2 separate regions of the Homo sapiens genome follow, and region 2 is linked to region 1. The links are contacts of gene promoters, found by promoter capture Hi-C in human tissues and cell types (Jung and others, 2019). All regions are on one chromosome and are shown on one strand. The core of a region is centred on a gene start or on the middle of the fragment in contact, and the rest is flanking DNA. Distances in the headings are between cores, read along the strand shown. Region 1 holds the start of TACR2 (tachykinin receptor 2). Region 2 overlaps KIFBP (kinesin family binding protein).

What was found. Contacts are between HindIII fragments. The study calls those that stand out against the background at their distance.
Region 2: a fragment that was not itself captured here is called in contact with the fragment with the promoter of TACR2 in region 1 in 1 of the 25 tissues and cell types used here (dorsolateral prefrontal cortex).

What each region holds. Positions count from the first base shown.
Region 1 is chr10:69,415,175-69,421,614 of GRCh38, forward strand. It overlaps TACR2 (tachykinin receptor 2), which reads right to left and starts at 1,744. Exons shown (of 5, transcript NM_001057.3): 1 at 758-1,744. The coding sequence starts at 1,149. RefSeq lists enhancers at 1,514-2,248, 2,999-3,293. The HindIII fragment of the contact is 13,628 bases long and covers 1-6,440 here.
Region 2 is chr10:69,006,241-69,012,007 of GRCh38, forward strand. KIFBP (kinesin family binding protein) reads left to right here. Exons shown (of 7, transcript NM_015634.4): 5 at 2,601-2,685; 6 at 4,660-4,775. Among named protein-coding and RNA genes, the nearest start is that of KIFBP, 20 kb to the left of the region's middle. The HindIII fragment of the contact is 4,582 bases long and covers 1,923-5,767 here.

The sequences.
Region 1 (6,440 bases), core at 494-2,993:
TCCTGTTAGCCCAGCTCCCTTTCCCCTGTCTCCCTCTCTCCCAACCCAGGCCCACGCCTTCTAGCCATTCCCCGCACTGCTGCCATCTGCTGATATCATAGTATCAGCCGACCTGCAGAGAGCCCGCTGGGTGACTCTCCCACAGCCACACAGCACACTGATGCCTTGGAACCCCGGCCCAGGCACCTCGGCCCACCATTTCCCTCTGGGCATGGACATGCCCGTGGACGGCCACAAGAAAGCCACACTGGAAGCCCATCTCAGGGCAAGATCAAGCATCCAACATTAGCCTGAAGCTCAGCCCTGAGCAGCGTTGGGAAAATAATTGGCCCTATTAGATTGTAACTGCAAGCAAACTTAACATTTTCCCCTCGTGTAATCTATCCGGAATAATAAAAAAAAAACTGTATAAGACATATCTTTGGAGTGAAATAAAGACAACAAAACAAAGATCAACTCCAGGAAAGAACACTTCAGAAGGTCGCTAAAACATTGCCCACTTCCCCTACAGACTTGAACAACCTGTCTAGTGCATCTAGTGCAAAGTCCTTCTCTGTGTCTAACCCTCAGTCTACCTTCTTCAGCTCCACAGTCCCCCTGCCTTCCAGATTCATAGTTTTGGACCATGACCAGATTTGGGAAGCCATTCCCATGGTTCTACCCAAACTTGCTGTGTAATCACAGGCATGTCACCACCCTTATCTGAGCCCCGGCTCAGTGGGGAGGCTCCCCCCAGCTTCCCCAAGGACCCTCTTGCCTGTCGGCAGCAATGGCGGTCATGGAGTAGATGCTGACAAACATGGCTGTGATGGGGAAGAGGTTCTGGAAGTAGCAGAAGGCACGGCCAAAGTACCAGATGTTGTGGCTGGCATAGACAAAGTTGAAGGCGGCATTGAAGGCAGCCATGCAGAGGTCAGCCAGCGCCAGATTGACGATGAAGTAGTTGGTGACTGTGCGCATCCTCCGATGGGCCAGGATGATCCAGATGACGATGGCATTACCCGTCACGGCCACCAGCACCAGGGCCAGGTAGGCTGTGGCCCACAGTGCCAGTTGCCAGCTGGGCATGGAGAAGGCTGTGATGCCCGTGGTGTTGCTCTCAGGGCCAGATGAGATATTGGCTTCAGTCACAATGTCACAGGTCCCCATGGCTGCTTCTGGGTCTGGAACAAAGGACCTGGCTCCTCGGCTCCTCTCGGATTTGCTATGAAAGAGAACTCCCCTTCAGAGCATGGGAATATGGGGGCAGGGAGAGGAGCAGATGCCAAGCGTGGTGGCACATCAGGAGAGCCTGGGGCCACTCCTAGGTCTCAGGCAAAGATGAGCTGGGCTGAGCACAAAGCCCAGTCCAGAACCATTGTCATTTCAGATTCCATCCTTCCGGCCAGACTTCTCGAATATCATGTGGAAACACAGAATTCAAATCACAGTGTCAGAGCAGAAAACACCCTTATAAATCAACCCCTTCGCTGAAGAGATGGAAGACAGAGATTCCAAGAGGGGACGGGACCAGCCCAGGTCACTCAGGAAGTTGGTGACAAGTTAGGACTCGAACCCAGGTTTCTCGTCACGTAATTCAGGAAACCTTCCAGATCAGAGGAATGCACAGCGGGAGTCTCTGGAGTCCACAGGTCAATGGCGCAGCAGCCTCTCTCCAGGCTTTGGGCTGCAAGCCGGGCTGGGTGCTGGGTGCTCAGGGCTCTGCCAGCTGCCAGCCCTCGCTGCAGCTTCCCTGCCGTTCTCTGGGGCAGGGCCAGTGGGGGCCTTGGCAGAGGTGCTGCCTGCTCACGAGGGGGGGCTTTGGCTCCCGCCCCTGGTCCCACCCCCTGCTTGGCCTTGTCTCTTGAAAGATTTAGGACTGGCTGCAGAGGCAGGGAGAGACTTGGGGGAGATGGGGCTGGTACAGAGGGCCCAGCTCTCGGCGGATGTTGACTTTCAGCCCAGGACAGGAGCTACGTCTGAAGAGTGATTCTGAATACAGAAGGAGTTCGAGCCTGGTTTGGTGACTCCAGGCAAGTCTCTTAACCTTTCTGAGCTCTGTCTACCCCATCTGAAAAATATAGAAAAATGGTGTGCATCTTACAGTACATTTGTGAATTTTAAATGGAGATAATGTGCACAAAGTCTACTTAGCACAGGGGTTGGTACATAAAAACTATGATTGGAGTTTCTGGCCCGAAGGGAGGACCCCACAGCTCTGGGCGCTCTAGGAGGAGAAGCCAGAACCCGGAGCGTTTCCAGCGAGTTCCCAGGTGATACTGATGCTGCTGGAGCCAGCACTTCACTTTGAGAACCACTGTCTTAGGACAAAGTCAGGGCTCTTCCGGGAACCACAGCAAAGCTGGAGTTTTAACTCCTGAGAAGCTGCTCTAGGTTTGCCCCAAGATCCCTGCTCCTGGTCATTGACTGTGTGCACGTGTGTGAAGCAGTGAAGATGTTTCTGAGCAACTGTATGTGCGGCTGACGTGTTAAGCTCACACACACGCATGAACCTGTGCACACCTGTGGTGTGTGGACCATGAAGGCAGGGCAGGATTAGCGGGAGTCGGGGGGGCATGTTCTTCATTAAAGCAGAGGAGGCTTCTCATTCACCAGCAACCCACGGCACAGCAGCCTCTGTGCTCCCAGGGCTCTGCCTTGCACCGCCTGGGTTTCTCGTGGCTGGGCCTCGGCCCCCACACTCCCAGTCCATTTTCTGCTTCTCCCTGTGTGTCACTTTCCTGACACCCAGCCCTTGTCTCCCGGGGTGAGCTGAGAAAGACCTTTAAAGGTCTCTAGTGCTGAAAAGATTATGCCACCCATGGAATCCAATATAAAAACAACACTAAACCATAAGTCATGAAACTTAAACATGCTGAAATTGAAAGAGCTTCTTTATGGATTTTTCTGATTATGAACTTCTGGGTAAGTTCATCGACAATCAACACTGAAATTGTATCTATTGTTTGGTCTCCCTGCTGTGCAGATGTGAGGAGCATGTGCTGGGTCGAATGGGAACCCCATCCTTGCCCTTGGGGAGGGAGTGCTTCCTGGGCCCCTACTCCTCCCGTGGGTGTGTGCCTGTGTGCCTGTTTCCTCTCTGGAGTGGCCTGTTTGGACTTTGGACCCTAGCAGAAGGGTCTCTGCCTTTGATCTCTGTTGGTGGCGGCAACAGTAGCAGTACTTTAGGGTTTGCTTCTGTCTCATGCCCATCTGGCCAGGGTCCTAAAGAGCAGAATGTGTAGAAATAAGAATGGAAGCCCAAGACAGCCTGCTCTTTTTGCTGTCCTCCTGCTCCCAGGCAGTGGGAATTTGTTGAGCTTCAGGTGCAAACCCAGTGCAGGGCTGGGATGCCTGAGCGCCTGTCACCAGTCACAGAAGCCCAGCAGAGTTCAAGTTCCTTCCTCCCCACAACATCCCGCCACCTCCACTGTTTATGTAAAGGGGATTATGTTTTGGAGCTTGTACATCTGAGTTTTTATTTTCCCCTTAAATTATCTGCTCTTGCAGCCTTCCAACTATGTGCTATGGTTTGAAGCCTCGTGAAAGGGGAAGATGCGGGCCACCCAGGATGAAGGGGTTCCTGATCAGCTTTGCTGCTTGGCACTGGCCTTCTGAGTCCATAGCTAGACAGCGATCCCGAAGGCCAGTCCTTATTTTATTTTATTATTTTAGATGGAGTCTCACAGTGTCGCCCAGGCTGGAGTGCAATGGCACGATCTTGGCTCACTGCAACCTCCGCCTCCTGGGTTCAAGCGATTCTCCTGCCTCAGCCTCCTAAGTAGCTGGGATTACAGGTGTATGCCACCACACCTGGCTAATTTTTGTATTTTTTTAGTAGACAGGGTTTCACCATGTTGGTCAGGGTGGTCTTGAACTCCTGACCTCAGGTGATCCACCTGCCTCAGCCTCCCAAAGTGCTGGGATTACAGGCATGAGCCACTGCGCCTGGAAGGCCAGTCCTTTTAAAGGAGAAAAAAAAATGCCGGGCACGGTGGCTCACACCTGTAATCGCACACCTGAGCTGATGGTGCCAGTTGCGTGCATCCAGGAAGCAGACCCTGCTGTGTAAGAAACACACCAGCTGTTTCTCAGGGAGCTACCACTGGGGTCAACACTTGGGGCAGCAGACAAGGCAGGAAGCAAGTGTGGCTGAAGCACGGCATCGTGCTGTGGTCCAGGCCTACAATAGCCTTGGTAACCCCATGGGTAATTGGAACTGGGATAGCTTCAGAGTTGCCCCGTGTGGGGCAAAGTTAACCAGGCCTTTATATTTCCACATTGGTCACTGGACGTGGGCCACCCCAAGAAATCATGTGATTGTTGTCAAGGCAGTTGAGGCGAGGCCTGCAGTCGGGGACGCTAAACATGGTGCTGGTACTATATGCCTGCCCGGCAGCTTGAAGGGGGCCTGGGAAGCGCAGGGCAACGTCCACACAGCTAGACAGCAGCCACTCCTTCAGACGGGCGTGCGCTGGCAACTGTGCCTTGCTGGTTGGTGTAATTGTGACCTCTGGGCTAGAGGCTTAAAGACCAGAGTTGGGAGAGGAATGATCTTCCAGGGAGTTTGAGGAAGAAAAGGTGGGAGAGCTGTGGTGTGTGAGAGAAGTGGGTGGGAGAGGAAAGGCGGCTCCAGAAAGCACTGTGGATGAGGCGTTGCTATCAGCGCCTGGGGGATGCTCTTGAGAGTGGCCTATCTCTGTTTGGGAGGCTGCTCTGGGCCCTAGCTTCAGAGGTCACAGACAGCATCGCGGGACACTAGCGCTGAGGGTCACCCTGTCACCAGGGCAATGCTGGGGGTGCCAGGAGGTGGCCGAAGTGAGAGGAGGACGTGGGGTTGGCAAAGGGTCAGCCCCTCTGCTGAAAGGCTCCAGTCCTGTGCCCGGTGGTGGGTCTGACCCTGAGCCGCTGCTCCAGTGATCATCCCAGAGACAGGAGGAAGGATCACATCTGTATTTGCGGGAGCTCCTGGTGGGGCCAAATGAGGACAAGAAGAAGAACACTTTTCATTCTGCTAGATGAATCTGGTTCCATGGACTGTCCTTCATTCCGAGACCATGCCCTTCCTGCTGTTTGAGTTCTTTCATGAAATAATGGGGATGGCGGATGGTAGTTGTTGACCTGGTTTTGCTTTTTCTTTAAAATTCCTTACTTGGTGGAATAAAAAGTCAGTGACCGGTATGGTTCCCTCAATAGGGTTTTTGTTGTTGTTGTTGTTGTTTTTGTTTTGTTTGTTTGTTTTTGAGACAGAGTCTCACTGTGTTGCCCAGGCTGGAGTGCAGTGGCACAATCTTGGCTCACTGTACCCTCCACCTCCCAGGTTCAAGCGATTCTCCTGCCTCAGCCTCCCGAGTAGCTGGGATTACAGGCGCCCACCCCCATGCCCAGCTAATTTTTATATTTTCAGTAGAGACGAGGTTTCACCATGTTGGCCAGGCTGGTCTTGAACTCCTGACTTCAGGTGATCTGCCTGCTTCAGTCTCCCAAAGTGGTGGGATTACAGGCGTAAGCCACCATGCCCGGCCCCCTCAATAGGTTTTTAATATTATATTGGCCCATGAAATTCAAAGACCCAGGAGCCCCTATCTATTTCCTCAATTAGAGAAGAGGAGTGAGGCTGGGTATGGTGGCTCACACCTGTAATCCCAGCACTTTGGGAGGCTGAGGTGGGTGGATCACCTGAAGTCAGGAGTTCGAGACCAGCCTGGCCAACATGGTGAAACCCTGTCTCTACTAAAAATACAAAAATTAGCCAGGTACAGTGGCAAGTGCCTGTAATCCCAGCTACTCGGGAGGCTGAGGCAGGAGAATCACTTGAATGCGGGAGGCGGAGGTTGCAGGGAGCTGAGATGCAGCCACTGCACTCCAGCCTGGGTGACAGATTGAGATTCCATCTCAAAAAAAAAAAAAGAGGTGCAGGAGCTCCCAAGAGGGGCAGGGCGAGGCCTGGTTTCATCACCAGTGAGGTGGGGCTCACGTCCCCTTGTCTTGCCTTTACTGTTCTGTCGGCCTCCACGTCCCGGAGGCCCATCGAAACCACTTCCTTGATCACCTCCTTGTCACACTGATGGCAGGCAAGGCTTCTCAGGTCTTGGATCGCGTCTTGTTTGTTTCCAGTGTCTAGGAGTGGCCAGAACGTTGTCAGTGTCCTATAAAGGTTGGTTGAATAAAAATGATGAATAAAATGTAAAATAATACTCCAGTGAGGGATGGGGAATCTTATGTGTACATTATTTATTTATTTATATCTATGTCTTTGTGATACAGATATGAAAGTTCTAAGTTAATGGTGGGATTTCAAGTGGGCAGGGCCGTATAATGCCTGGCACACTGGTACATGGTAGATGCTCAATAAACATCAAATGAATAAATGAATAACAAATGATGAGTAAAGTCTAAATTATCACCTTGTTAGGGGTGAATGGGTAGCATTTTTATTTTTACAGGCCCTAAAGCTTAAA
Region 2 (5,767 bases), core at 2,964-5,463, 410 kb before region 1:
AGCTTTATCTTTACGTAATGGTAATCTCATAACTCTGAGAATTTGACTGAGGAAGTTGACTGTTAAATGTGGGCTTTGATAAAAGCATGTGATGCATTTCAGTTATTTTTCAGAATTAACTCTGTAATAATTTTTTAATGTTGGAAATATGTCTGCTGAGTTCCAAAGTTCTAGGTCTTTATACCATACTTCTTTTGGATTGTTACACAGGGACAATGTTTTTGAGCTTCTTAGTTGTTTATCAGAATTTCTCATAAAAATTTAAAAAAGCATTGCTCACATCATGTTGGTGTACTCTTAATTGACCCATTTATTCCTTTAATCCTTGAGAGTTTTTAATGCTAAAATAATTTTACACCACCTTTTCTAACCAGATTTTCCTATTAATCCTTAATAAGACATCTCAGCAATATAAATTACTTTTATTTATATTTCGAATTCGCAAGCCTCTCTGAAATTTTGGTAGTTCTCTGCTTATCAGAGTTCCTTCTTTCATCTCTCTGGTAACCCGCTGCCTTATCCTTGGGCCTTTATCCTTTTTGAGCATTTCGTTAGCGTTGGTTCTGTAAATGCGCCCGATGATTAAAGTATTGTCCCACAGAATTTCATTCAGAAAAGCTATTAGCAGGAGAGAAAGGGCTGTGGTGACTGCAGCATCGCTTCTAGGACTTTGGTCTAAGATCAAGTGTGTAAGTAACGCTACTGCATATATCAGAGCATTCAGTTAACTAATTCTCATGAATCCATTTCATTGTCCTCATCCAAAGTGTTATCCAGTGCCTCCGCTTGTGACATCTTTTTTACAGCTGTTGGAGGCCCCTTATTCATTCTGTTTAGCAACTTTAAAATTACATATTCACTGTGACTTTAATTTATACTTAAAACTCCATGGAAATTGGCAGTACTAAGATATCTAGATATTAAAGTGTGATTAAAATTTAAAGTTGTTAAGCATTACTTATGTGGAGCATGCAGTAATTTTCATGAGACCTCCCACACCCTGCACTTTTATTTTTTTACCAAAATCTTTTTTAAGTTTTTGTTAAAACCAACTAAGTCGTATTGCAAAAAGAGGGATTTGAACCATGTTTTTAAAAATGCAATTGTCATTTATATCATTGTCATCTTCATCTGATTCCAGTGATGAGGTTTTGCTACTTGGTGAATCCCTACCTGGCAGCTGCTAAAGTCCCACATTTACCAGCCACCTAGAGGGCATAAGACACTCACTGTTCTAGCAGTGGTTGCTCACAGGGAGCCAATCTGGACAAAGCTGAAATGACGATAAATGTTAAGGGATTGGATTATAGAGAGATAATTAAAGTTTCATTATATAAACTCTAACTTTCTTTTGGCTTTTAAGATTTAACACATTTTTATCTATAGATGTTGCTGGGCTAATACTACACGTGTCCAGCTATTCTCAAGATGGCTTCTGAATTTGCCATAATGGAAAGATACATTTAATGCTGCAATTTTAAAGTTATAGCCAACCATTTAAAGCCTTTCAGGTATTACTAATATTAAGTAGACATTCTATTTAATGAGGGTGGCTTCCAACTAAAAGTTGGACTTTAACTTTGAACTTCTGCTGGGTGGTCCTTTGACTTACATGACAAATACAAAATGTTTCTATTAACAAGGAGATCTTCTCTAATTGTTTGAGAAGTTTGCCATGCCCGGAATTGAATTATGAAGTCTTCAAGAGTGTTGGTAAAGCAGTTCCATAAGGTTCATCTGTAGAAGTCTGTTGACTTTAAAACTTGGTGGGAAGCCTTATTGTATGTAAAGTTTAAAGATTTTAGAACACAGGAATATCTTCTTACCTGAGTTTATCCTATTTGCCTTTGTATAGTAGGATGTAAAGGGGCTCTCTAAACCTAATAAAAATTAAATCCTCAGGCTGGGCAAGGTGGCTTACATCTATAACCCCAGCACCCTGGGAGGCCAAGGTGGGAGCATTGCTTCAGGCCAGGAGTTGGAGACCTGTTTAGGCAACATAGAGAAACCCCAGAATTAGTCAGGCTTGGAGGCTAAAGGTGGGAGGATCCCTTAAGACCAGGAGGTTGAGGCTGCAGTGAACTATGATTGTGCCACTGCACTCCAGCCTTGGGCCAGAGTGAGACCCCTGTCTCGTAAAAAAAAAAAAAAATATATATATATATATATATATATATATTCAGTCTTCTGACACAATGTAAATAGTCTAAGAATTTATTGTGCATGGGATTTTGGCTACTTAGACTGAACCTAAAGGAGTTTTTGAGACAGTTTAAGTCTAGGATGACAGCCATTCCTGTATATCTATTGATTGTATAAGGAGAGCTAACTTTCAGTTGGCAGTTGTCTTTCAATCCGAGTGGATTATTATTAAGAGTTTGGGGGCATTAATATTTTAACCTTTGAGGTTACATTTTAACCAGATAATATGATAATATATCTTTTGTACCTTCTGAATGATCTGCAACTCTACAGGGCCTCCTTTGTAGTATTTTTATCTGATTTTATACCTTTTCCCATATTAAAAGAAATTATGCAAGTATCAGTTGCAAATAAAGCTGTGTGATAGTTGCATTCACTGTTGTTTATTTCCCCAATAGCTATGCTTTATGGAGGCCAGGCACTGTTTATCAGCTGCTAATGTCATTTTTGGTCAAACTGGAAAGATCTCAGCCACAGAAGACAGTAAGTTTACCTTTGCATGTTTTACATAGCTTTTAAAAAAAGTTTTATTTTGAAATTATTTTAAACTTTTGAAAAGTTGCAAGAACAGAAGAGCTATCATATGCCCTTCTAAATGCACCAATTTTTAGTATTTTCCTCGCTTGGAATCAAATTTTATTTTTCTCTCTGAACCATTGGAGAGAAGGTTACATACATTAGGCTCTTTTACCCTTTCATACTTTAGTATATATTTCCTAAGAAGAATATTTTCTTACATAATCATAGATCATTTATCAAATTCAAGAAATGTAACATTGGCCAGGCATGGTGGCCCACGCCTGTAATGCTAGATTTTGGGAGGCCAAGATGGGAGGGGCCAGGAGTTCAAGACAAGCCTGATCAACATAGTGAGACCCCATCTCTATGTTTTTAAAGAAATTAAAAAAAAAAAAGTAACATTGATACAATTCTTTTATCTACACTGCATATTTCTATTTCATCAGTTGTTGCCATAATATTCCTTCTAGCATTTGTTTGCCAGTACTGGATTATACAGTTCAAGATTGCATAATGCATTCAGTTGTCACATCTCTTCAGGCATTTTTCGTCTGGAATTGTTCCTCAGCCTTTCTTTCCCTTTCATCACTTAATATTAAGAATATAGGCCAGTTATTTCATAGAATTACTGCCAGCTGGGGTTTGTGTGATGTTTCCTTATGCCATGATTCAGATGATATATTTTTGGTTGGAATACTACATGCATAAGCGATGTTGCCAAATACCCATCTTTTTAAGTATAGTGTTTCCTTTAGTCTTAGAAAATCACAGTTAACATGTGTCTTTGAGTCATTTAACAGGTTTTTTAATAAGTTCATCATTTTCTTTAAAAATAGTTTATTTTTAAAAATAGTTTGATTCTATTGCTCACTGTTGAACAGTTTCCAACCTTCTTACGATGTTTTAGATTTTGAAACATCATGTCTTCCTTACAAATGGACATTCTAATTGTGGATCTGAAAAATGCAGAGACTCTTAAGAGCTAAAGGAATGTACATTATCAAAGTAAATAGTTGCTTTCTCCCCTAATATATTAACTACATTAATTATAGATTAGTTGAAGTCTAAGAGGCACTTGTCTCAAAAAATGAATAAAAACTAAATTGCTGAGATATTATTTAATAATTCACTTTATTTAAAGTAATATCGTGAGATATTATTTTGTTTTTACTCTTCATAATAGCTGAAAAAATGACAGTGACCAGTGTTTTCAAAATGTTCTTATTGAGCATTCTCATATATTGTTGGTTGGCATATTTGTTGAAAATAATTTGGCTGTATGTTGTGAATTATTTAAAATTGTGTAAACTCTTTTACTCAGTAAATTCCACTTCTAGGAATCTGCCCTAAGGAAGAAATCCAAAATCCAGACAGATTTTTGCACAATTATACTCATGTTTCAAGTTTAAAAAAAATGTGTGTATGTGTATAAACTTTACAAAGCTTTGTGTTGACAGCTGACTTTGTAGATTACAGCAAGAAAGCTGCTCTGCTATGTATGACACTCTGACCCAGAAGCAGGTCATCTGAATAGTTTAGCACCAGGTTCTCCACAACCATCTGTTGTGTGACATAGACGTTTTTGTGATAGTAAAGAATTGGAAACAACAAATTCCAGGTTAGAATTAGAAGAATGGTTAAATAATAGAATATCTATTTAATTGTATATAATGGTGTACTTAAAAATGAAGCTAAGAGTTGATAATGATATGAGTAAAGTGTTTGTGGTGCGAGAAAGAAATATGCAAAAATAATAGTGAGTGCTTCTGGGTAGTAGGATTTGGGGGGGGATCTTTCTTCCCTTTTCCCCAAGCCCCCTGCTTCAGTAAAGATCTGTTACTTTTATAGTCAGGAAAAAGTGATATTAAAAAAATTACAGTACCCAATGAAAATTACAGTTGTGACCATTAACTTAAACAAATCACATGTATATTTTAGCTCCTGAAGCTGAAGGAGAAGTGCCAGAGCTTTATCATCAAAGAAAGGGGGAAATAGCAAGGTGCTGGATCAAATACTGTTTGACTCTCATGCAGAATGCCCAACTCTCCATGCAGGTAATGCAGTCAGAAGCTGCCTTTTTCTTTCTTAAATGAGGAAATTGTAAGTAAAAACTCATAGTGGGGATTGTGCTCATTGGGGTCACATTGTGTTTAATATGAAAGGTGTGTAGAATGTTTTCGTAAATATTTCTTTCTTGGTTTTAAATCGTATTCTTCGAATTGCTTGAATCCGGGAGGCAGAGGCTGCGTGAGCCGAGATTGGACCACTGCACTCCAGCCTGGGCAACAGAGCGAGACTCCATCTCTAAATAAATAAATAAATAAAATAAATCTTACTCATCATTCAAGGCCTATCTTAAATACTACCTCTTCCTTGAAGACTTTTCTTTGGTTAGAATATAAGCTTCTTGAGAGCTGGGAACGATATCATATTCTTTTTTTTTTTTTTTTTAGACAGGCTCTCGCTCTGTTTCCCAGGCTGGAGTGTGGTGGCGTGATCATGGGTCACTGCAACCTTGGTCTCCCCGGCTCATGCAGTCCTCCCACCTCATCCTTGGAGTACAGGCGTGTGCCACCATATCCAGTTAATTTTTAAATTATTTTGTAGAGACTGGCTCTCACTGTGTTGCCAAGGCTGGTCTTGAACTCCTGGGCTCAAGTGATCTTCCTGCCTTGGCCTCCCAAAGTGCTGGGATTACAGGTGTGAGCCACTGTGCCTAATCTTTTTTTTTTTTTTTTTTTTTTTTTTTTTGAGACGGAGTTTTGCTCTGTCGCCCGTGCTGGAGTGCAGTGGTGTGATCGCAGCTGCAACCTCTGCTTCCTGGGTTCAAAGGATTCTCCTGCCTCAGCCTCCTGAGTAGCTGGGATTACAGGTGCCTGCCACCATGCCTGGCTAATTTTTGTCTTTTTAGTGTAGATGGGGTTTCACCATTTTGGCCAAGCTGGTCTCGAACTCCTGACCTCAAGTGATCCATCCATCTCGGCCTCCCAAAGTGCTGGGATTACAGGTGTGAGCAACCACACCTGGCCAAGCCCTTACTAATCTT